Linked DNA regions of Homo sapiens: region 1 is linked to region 2. The links are contacts of gene promoters, found by promoter capture Hi-C in blood cells and fetal thymus (Javierre and others, 2016). All regions are on one chromosome and are shown on one strand. The core of a region is centred on a gene start or on the middle of the fragment in contact, and the rest is flanking DNA. Distances in the headings are between cores, read along the strand shown. Region 1 has its middle 15 kb from the start of RPL22L1. Region 2 holds the start of SLC7A14 (solute carrier family 7 member 14).

What was found. Contacts are between HindIII fragments. The CHiCAGO score rates a contact against its expected background, and 5 or more counts as called.
Region 1: a fragment that was not itself captured here is called in contact with the fragment with the promoter of SLC7A14 in region 2 in 1 of 17 cell types (endothelial precursors); the score reaches 5.6 in endothelial precursors.

The regions. Positions count from the first base shown.
Region 1 is chr3:170,853,238-170,857,765 of GRCh38, forward strand. No RefSeq gene overlaps it. Among named protein-coding and RNA genes, the nearest start is that of RPL22L1, 15 kb to the right of the region's middle. The HindIII fragment of the contact is 892 bases long and covers 1,141-2,032 here.
Region 2 is chr3:170,584,113-170,588,570 of GRCh38, forward strand. SLC7A14 (solute carrier family 7 member 14) reads right to left here and starts at 1,963. Exons shown (of 8, transcript NM_020949.3): 1 at 1,799-1,963. All of the region lies in intron 2 of SLC7A14-AS1 (SLC7A14 antisense RNA 1), which reads left to right. RefSeq lists a silencer at 448-742. The HindIII fragment of the contact is 6,611 bases long and covers 1-2,350 here.

The DNA of each region.
Region 1 (4,528 bases), core at 337-2,836, 270 kb after region 2:
GAAAGGTAATGTTACTAATTATCTGACTTGGGATTCTTTTGTAGTTATATGGATTTGCTTACCCAGAAAGGCACACAGAGATAAATTTGACCTGGTTTTTAGCCTCGAAGTATTTACAGTCTAGTGAGGGAGGAAAACAAATAAACCAAAAATTCTGTCAAAGTGTCAGAATGTTTATGATATAGCTTAAACAAAAAGGCAGTGGTATTAGTTTGTGTACCAGGGAATTCCAAGGTGTGTACCTCCTCCAACTTCAATAGGCTGCCTCTGGCTTCTCTGGGGTTGGCCTTGAAATGAGCAGGGTCTGGGAGGCAAAAGGAAGGGACAGAAAAGGTCTGTCTCCACCACTACAGTTTGGTGATGTGGCTTTCTGGGCTTGAAGAAAGTTCAAGGCTTCTTCTTTCTCTTGAAGTATACATTTCTGGATTTCTCAAAGATTTATCACAGAGAATCTTTTGCTGCAACATTCGTGACATAAGCAATGCCATTTCTCAGGATCTTCACTCACTACCTGTAGCTCCTGAGCATGTGGTTGTCCCTTATACACAGACTCTTTCTGTTTGGGGTCCCACTTCTCTCCCAAGCAGTCCTCTTAGGTGAACAAGAACTCAACCCAAGCCTGGTCCTTCCCCGTGCACTACATCTGTGGACTACATCTGGTCCAGGGGAAGCACCTGTGCCTCCTTGTAGCTATGGAAATGTACCCCTCATTGCTCTCCCGTAGGCAAACTGCTCCAGCCACTGCCTTTGCCTTAGTTTTTCTCAAGGATGAGTCAAATGCCTAAAAGTCTTCAATTTCTCATGTGTCCTGGAAGTAGGAAATGAACTAAGTCTTAGAAAACTGGAGCTGGAGCACCTCCTTTGTAAGCTCTGCATAGATTTGGAATGTGGGAATATTTGGCACCTTAATTTTGTTCTCAGTTCTTGGAGTCTCAGCTGAAATAGGAGAGAAAAAGTCTCATTGGAAAAGTCTGTTTCATACCTCAATGAAAAGTACAGGGGTGATGAAATAAGGAATCTTCCATGCTGTTTCTTGAAGGCAGTAGGCCGTCTCCTGTGACTGGCCTTCTTACAATAAAACTGTGCGTCAGAGAGCCCTCTGTTAAGCCAGTTTGTGGTTCTCCAGAAGAGGAAAAAAGAAGCTTGGTTCTCTTCAAAAGCTAGATTATTCTTAGGCTTGGTTCTCCTAAGGAGCCAGCTGAATGTGCATCACTGTGAGAAAAGATTGCCTGGCAGGGAGAAATTTAGAAACATTTTTTTACACTAAAGCATTTACAGAGCATGAGCATTGAAGCCAGAGAGATCTGAATTTAAATTCCAATTTGGAACTTATTAGCTGTGTGGCCGTAGACCGACTGTTTAGCACTCTAAGCCCTTGGTTTTCTGATTTGTAAAAGGGGACTAATAACTAGCTTGAAGGGTAGCTGTGGAAATTAAATGAGATGTAGTATGTAAAGATTCCAAAACAGATGCCTTCGATGAGTAGTAGCCACTATCACCATTCCTCCTCAGCCTGGAATTCTCTCCCTCTTCTTCTCTGCCCCATCAATTCCCATTCTTCCTTAAAGAGAAGTCAGGGTAAGCCACCTCCTGCAGAAGGCCTTCTTGGATTCCTTTTCCCACTCATTATGGTATTGGTGCTTCTAAAGCATTTTGTAATATCTCTATTACTGCATGAACCACACTTACCTAAAGTCATTTGTACCCACATTTGCTCCCCTCGTTAGAACTGGGATTTCCTTGAGTGCAGAGAGTATATATAACTCACCCATCATCTCCCATGACTGCGACTGCCAAGGCAGAAATCATTGACCATATATTTGTGACATGTATGGAATCTGTAATTCACACCTCCCCATCTCAGAGAAAGAGGGAGAGAGGAGTTGCAGTGTTCCCTCCCTTGGGAGAAAACATATCTATTCCATCATAATTGAGATAGCAGATCATGATTCCCAGTTTGGCTCATTAACTCATAGGATTTTAGGACAGAAAAAAAAAGCCTTATCATGGGGGAAGTATGTTACTCTCAAGAAGCTTGTGTGTATCATGAGGTCAGGAGACCGAGACCATCCTGGCCAACCTGGTGAAACCCTATCTCTACTAAAATACAAAAAATTAGCCAGGTGTGGTGGTGTGGGCCTGTAATCCCAGCTACTCAGGAGGCTGAGGCAGGAGAATCGCTTGAACCTGGGAGGCGGAAGTTGCAGTGAGCCGAGATTGCGCCACTGCACCCCAGCCTGGCGACACAGCAAGACTCCGTCTCAAAAAAAAAAAAAAAAAAAAAAAAAAAAAGGTATATCCAATATTATGAGTTTATAGTGGGAAAATTATCCCAAAAATCTTACTTTGTTTTGTTTCAGAATAGAAAGCCCCAAAATACCTTGGTTGGTGGGGATATTTATGCATCAGTTATATCACAGGGTGGCAATTGGAACTGGGAACAAGGAACATGAGAAATATCTGTGTTTATCAAAAGGAAGCAGGTGTTACTAAAGCCCGAGAAATGCTGACCTATTTTTAACCACTTCTTTATATACAGAAGGGGAAACTGAGGCCCAGAGGGTGAAGAGATGTGTCCAAGGTCACAAAGCTAGTAGGCAACAGAGAGGCAGGATGTGTGACATGGCCCCGTGTGTGGGAGGAGCACTGGGTGAGGAGTGAGAGGTGGGTGCCATGGTGTGACCATGGGCAAGCCAGTAAACCTGAGACCTGGTTTTTTCATCTGAAAAATGGGAAGATAATATTGTGCCACAGAGGGCTGTTAAGGGATCAAAAGAAAAGAGAAAGCCATTTGTAAATGCAACACATTGTTTAAAACTGGCCTTCCTGGCATTTTAATCATCCAGCTTGTAAAAGAGCACACACTGAAGCTATATATCTAGACTCCAGTCCCTTCAGCATGACCACATACAAGGGTTTCCAGACAGTAAGTAGGAAAACCTATGCTAAGCAAAACTTCCTGGGAACTTTTTCATCAGGGGTAATGGTATAGGTGGGTAGTCACATGGGAAAAAGGTATAATTGGATCCACTTCTCAAATTGTAAACCAGGATAAATTCCAAATAGAATAGAGACCTACATTTTTTTAAGATGAAAATATGTAAGTACTAGCAGAAAACATAAATGAATTCTTGATAACGGGGAAAGCTTTTCTAACCATGGCAATAAGAAAAAAGTTAATTGATTTAATTACATAAAAATAAAAATAATGCTTCTATAGCAACAACTACAACAAAACAAAATGAAAACTAGTAATAAAACAAAAGAAAAATAGCAGCTGGGTATGGTGGCTCACACCTGCAATAATAGCACTTTGGGAGGCTCAGGCAGGAGGATTGTTTGAACTCAGGAATTCAAGACCAGCCTGAGCAATATAGCAAGACCCCATCTCTACCCAAATTTTTTAAAAAATGAGCCAGGTAGTGGTGTGTGCCTGTAGTCTCAGCTACTCAGGAGACTGAGGTGGGAGGATGGCTTGAATCTACGAAGTCAAGGACGCAGTGAGCCATGATCCAGCCTAGGCAACAGAGCAAGGGCTTGTCTCAAAAAAAAGTTAAAAAACAAAAATACCATAAGTAGGGGAAAAAGACAAATGAGAAGCTGAAAAAAGAAATTGTAATTTACATCACACACAAGGAGTTAATAGCCTTAACATAGAGGGAGCTTCTAAAAGTAAAAAATTAAAAATAAAAACAAGAATTCCACAGATATATATTAGAGATATAAACAGGCAGCTCACAGAGAAAGATATGCAAATGACCCTTATTGACATTCAACCTCACTCACAAATACAATGCAAAGGAAAATTACCCTGAAAACCAGGTCTCACCTGTCAGTTAAGCCTCAAATTGGACAAGGTTATCTCTTGGTGTGTCTACAGGAAAACAGATTTCACAGATTGCTGGTGGGAAGGCTAGTGGGAGAGCAAAATGCTACAACCCCTGTAAAGGGAAATTCAGCAATATCTAGAAATTACACATTCATTTATCTTTTGACCTGTAAGTCTCAGGTTTACAACTCCTCTCTAGGGGCTGGGCACGGTGGCTCATACCTGTAATCCCAGCACTTTGGGAGGCCAAGGCGGGTGGATCACAGGTTCAGGAGTTCGAGGCCAGCCTGGCCAATATAGTGAAACCCCTTCTCTACTAAAAATACAAAAATTAGCCGGGTGTGGTGGCAGGAGCTGGTAGTCCCAGCTACCCAGGAGGCTGAGGCAGGAGAATTGCTTGAACCCAGGAGGCAGAGGTTGCAGTGAACTGAGATTGTACCACTGCACTCCAGCCTGGGTAACAGAGCGAGACTCTGTCTCAAAAAAAAAAAAAAGACAGAGAAACTAGACTTTTCTAAATATACTTTGTTTTGTAGATTGGACTTTAGAATCCTGTAAATATTTTACAGAATTATAAAAAACAAAGTGGGCTTAAGCAAACTTTTTAATCAAAAGCAAAATGAAACAAATGACTCTGTGTATCAAGCTTGTTCTACGCCCACACAGAGATGAATCATTTCTAGTGACTTTAAAACACGA
Region 2 (4,458 bases), core at 713-3,212:
TGAAATATTATTACCCAGCAGATAGAGGTGTTCAGTACAAATAGGCCTCCCCAAATTGGCTCAATCCTTTCCCCATCTTGCCCATAATATAAAAGACTAGCTAAAGAAACAAACATACAGGGCTGCTTAGCGATCTTTATCTAGAGCATGTAAATAACATGCAGTGGGGAAAGAAGGGTTCTAAGAAGAGGAAAAAGCTACAACCATGAAGCCCCTCCTTTGTGTAGCCTAACAATTCTCTGATTCCTGAAAGCCACAGAAATGTTTATTATCAAAACAGCATCCCTAACTGCCTTTCAACACTTTACCGACAGGAAGTCTCACTGCTCAGGTATAGGAAGTAGAACGAGGAAGCTCCCGAAGTTAGCAAAACTGGATCCTGAAGTGACACCCGCTTCCTGCTCTTCCACTCAGGAAAGCCGGGAACCTTTTCCCAAGCGGAGTCCTGGGGAAGCAGAAAACCGGGAAAGGCAAAGCCCCTTCTTCTCCTGTTTCTCTAGGTCGCTTGCTTAGAACCCTTTAGGGTTCTAACGCAGTTTCTGCTCGCAGGGAATGTGGGCCCTGGCGGTATTAGCACCCAGCCTCTGAGAACTTTCAGCACCGCGGACAGCGCCATTCCCTGCACTCAGTCGGAGGAGGAGAGCTACCTTGCCCCCAGCGCTCTCCTAGACCCTATACCTAGGGGGAGGCAGGGTGACATCCTGCGGCCCTTGGGCAATTCGGGCCAGTGACGTTCACCGACACTCAGGCGGGGATCCCTTCGCCAGAGCCAGTTCCTTTGAGTGTCTCCGCTCAAAATCTCAAGGAAACGAGCTTCACACAGGTGGGGGGATGAGGAGTGCCAGAACAGGAGCGAGCCCCGCTGCTCTAGCCTTCCTGCATCTCTTCTCGCCTTTGCTTTGCTCACTCTTCAATCGCAATATAAAATACTCATTTGGGGAGGGGGCAGGGTGACACAGGAGAGAGAAGGAGGGTGGGGGCTGCATCCCGCGTGGCCACGCAGCCCTAACCTGGCCCTCTTGGATTAGAGGGGAGCTGATGTGCTTTGGAATGGGAGAAGAGAGGAGACTGAGGGTTGAAGCAGTGCAGGAGAGCTCCCCTTGCTGGGGCTGCCGGCTCTGGGCAGGGAGCTTCCCTGGACACCGCTCCCGTCACGTCCTCTTCGCCGCTCCCGGGAGAGTCACCACTCTCCGGGGACAGACGCCCCTCGGGGCGCCACCATCCTGGTCGGGGTGCTGGGCTCGGCGGGAGTCCCTTTGAGGAGTTTGCTCCCAGGTAAAAGGGCAGACGTTGCTCCCGACCTCCCCGGAGTCTGCGGCCGGAAAAGCGTCTCCGTTTCATGGTCTCGGTCCGAGGCGGAGAACGGAGCTGCCCGTGCGGGGTGCGCGCCAAGGCGGGGGACAGGACGGGCCCGGCGTCTGCCGAGACCTAGGCTGCCCGCATTCCGCTCGCGGCTCCCCTTCTGCCTCCCGCTCTAGCGGCGCCGGAGCCGCGCTGGCCCCCGCCCCGCCCGGCAGCTCCCGCGAGTCAGAGCCCGGTGCCCCCAGACCGCGGGCAGTCGGGGCCTCATTCCGGGCCAGAGCAGGAAAGAGCCCGACCCACCTCCTCGGTTCTTCCAGGGAACCCCTTCTCGGAGGGCGCCCTGGGCCTCCGCGCCATATTCCTGGTCCCCCGCTCCCGGTGACTCCGGCTCCCTGGGTCATTCCGGGAGAGGCGGCCATCCCAGTTGCAGGGGTCCCGCTGGGGCGCGGGGGGCGCGGAGGGGGACAAACGGCAGCGAAGGGGGCCGTTCACTTACCGGGGTCGGGGCTGGAGGCGACGAGCTGGCTGCCAAGGCTGGTGGCTGGCAGTCCGCACTTACTGCGCGGAGCTGTCTCTCTAGCTGGGATGGGAAGTGGTGGTGGCGGCAAAGGAAGGCAGGAGGCAGCCGCTGCTGCTGAACAGCTCCTCAATTATTCAGATTGGGCCCCCACCCCCCGAACCCCTCCCCGTGCCTGCTCGTCCTCCCTCCAGCTCGCCTGTCTCCGCCTCCTTGGAGTCACATGGCCTGCCCAACCCCTTACATACTGGGCCCAAGCCTGGCACCAGACCACCTCCCACCTGGCCCCCCTGCCTTCCCCTCTGTCTGCCGCTCACAACTCCTCGCTGGCCTTCTGAGCCTCCAGTTGTGACCTCCAGTGTCTTATGTCAGGCTGCAGGGAGGTTGAGGGGGCCGTGGATGGGGGCAGTTCTTTGCCCTGGGAAAGCAGGGACCAGCAGGACTCTGCAATGTCTGTGCGTTGGGAAGGCATCTGCCGCAGCTCTGCCCCTGCTAGACTGGGCTGTCCAGACCTCCTTCCTGCCCTCTGGAAGCTTCCCTCATCCTCTGCGGAGCCTTCGTTGCTCTTAAACTTCCACATCCCTGAGCCCTACAGGAAAGAAAAAATGAGAGAGGTTGATTTCTCCTCTCCTCCTAAAGAAGACAAGACCCACCTCTGTCTTCAAAGCTTAAGTTTATCGTTGGGTTCACAACATCTTATGGGTGCAAAGATCATGGACTTGAGATTTGAAGAGCCATTAGGATTCCAATCTGTATGACCTTGGAGCATTTAACTTTCTAGCTTTTCTTCTCTCGTCTGTGAAATAACCACCTTGCAGTATTGTCATGAGATTGAGAAATCATCATGTTCTTAGAATTGCCTAGCCTAGAGTTGGACAGGTATTTGGAGCTCAATAAAGGAGAGTTCTTTTTCCCCCACCTTTGTTAAAATAAATTTCACAAGGCAAGAAGGATGTGATGTGTGCTAATACAGTGAAAGCATCTTTTAAACATGGAAGGAGGCATCTGTGAGGTCAGGCTAGACAAGTACCAGTCTAAACGGAGACAAGAGTGAGATAAGGTTTCTGTTTTGTATTAGCTCCTTTAAGATGAGTGTCCTAGAGCCAGGTTATGTCCCAAAAGGATTGGGACTAGATGGGACCAACCCAGGCATGCTTGGCCACATCACCGAATGAATTATTTAACAAGCATTGAGTAGACTGATTTGGATGAAAGTTATCTACATAAATTCTTGCACTTTGGCCCAAGCCCTCAAAACACATGGGAGGCAACAAAATGTAACTCTCCTATCCTTGGAAATGAATTCACTGGGCTTGTGTTTGGGGAGAATACTGGCTGACTGATACTCCTCTAGGGTGGAGCAGTTCAAATCTAGCTCTACTTTGTGGGTCTGCCCTGGGCTCTTCCCAGAAAGTTGCTTGATCATTGCCAGGACAGTCTTGGTTAGTCCACCTACCTCAAGCTTGTTACTGCCTTCGATGAGCATCTAAGCCTGACAATATCCCCATATTTTAAGCTTTGAGTAGTTCTGCAGGATATGTTAGACCTCCTGGGATCACCAAGAAGCTGTGAGACATTGTAGGAAAAGTGCAAAGTTAAAAAATCAGAAATTTGGAATCTCAGTGCAGGTTCTGCCAGCTACTTATCATATGATTTTTCACAAATCACTTAAATTGTCAGACTCTCATCTTCAGAATGGGAAAGGAATGTCTACCTGCCTTCTATATAAGATGGTTGTGATGTTTAGATGGGATAGCACATGAGAAGTCACTGTAAAAGGTAAAGAGTATGAATACTATGGGCTGAAGAAAACCCTGAGTCTATTCTAGTCCAAATGAATTATGAGGGTGATAAGATGGGAAGATGGGATTTGTCATGGAATATGCAGCTACTAAAATGTTGGTGTGTTGCTCTAAGTCTGCATGTATGCCTGTAGCTCAGGGGATGTGATTATTGGAGAACTGCATTCTTTGTTTCACCTTTTTCTGGATAAATTTCTGATTTAAATCTCCATATTTCCCTGGCCTTTTATTTCTGGAACACCAGCCACAATCACAATAGTTATGAATATTTACTATCTGAGAAAAGTTTGTGCCTATATTTCAAGACAGCAGGGTTTAGACTTTTCTGCCTTTGCTAGGTAAAATTGACTTGGGTTGGTAATTCAAAATGGCTTCGATTTCAAAGAAAAAAAATTTGGATTCTAGGAACAAACTCTAGACATTCATCAGCAGCTTGAATGATGATATGTGTTTCTAGTCCACTGCCAATAAACTCAATGAAATCCTCACACAAACCAGGAACTCCTGGAACCCTCCAACCTTAAGCAGATTCCAATCCTATCTCCTGGTGTACTTCCCCTTAATATTCTTTGGAAATTGCTAATCTGGACCTCTTTGTATTTAGGGAGACTAAAAGACCAGAAAGTGTCAACCATGCTTCTATATATACCACTGAAAAAATTGTCTGGGCTAGGTAAAATGCTGCTTCTGACTCCTGCCTACCTCTCCACTGACATCAAGAAACATGAGAAAGGGAAAAATAAGCATGAAATCATTTAATTTGGCCATGATGCCTTTATGAGCAGTTACCTGGACAAGCATAAATTTCAGAAAATTTTGAACAGTTTCACCAGAAAT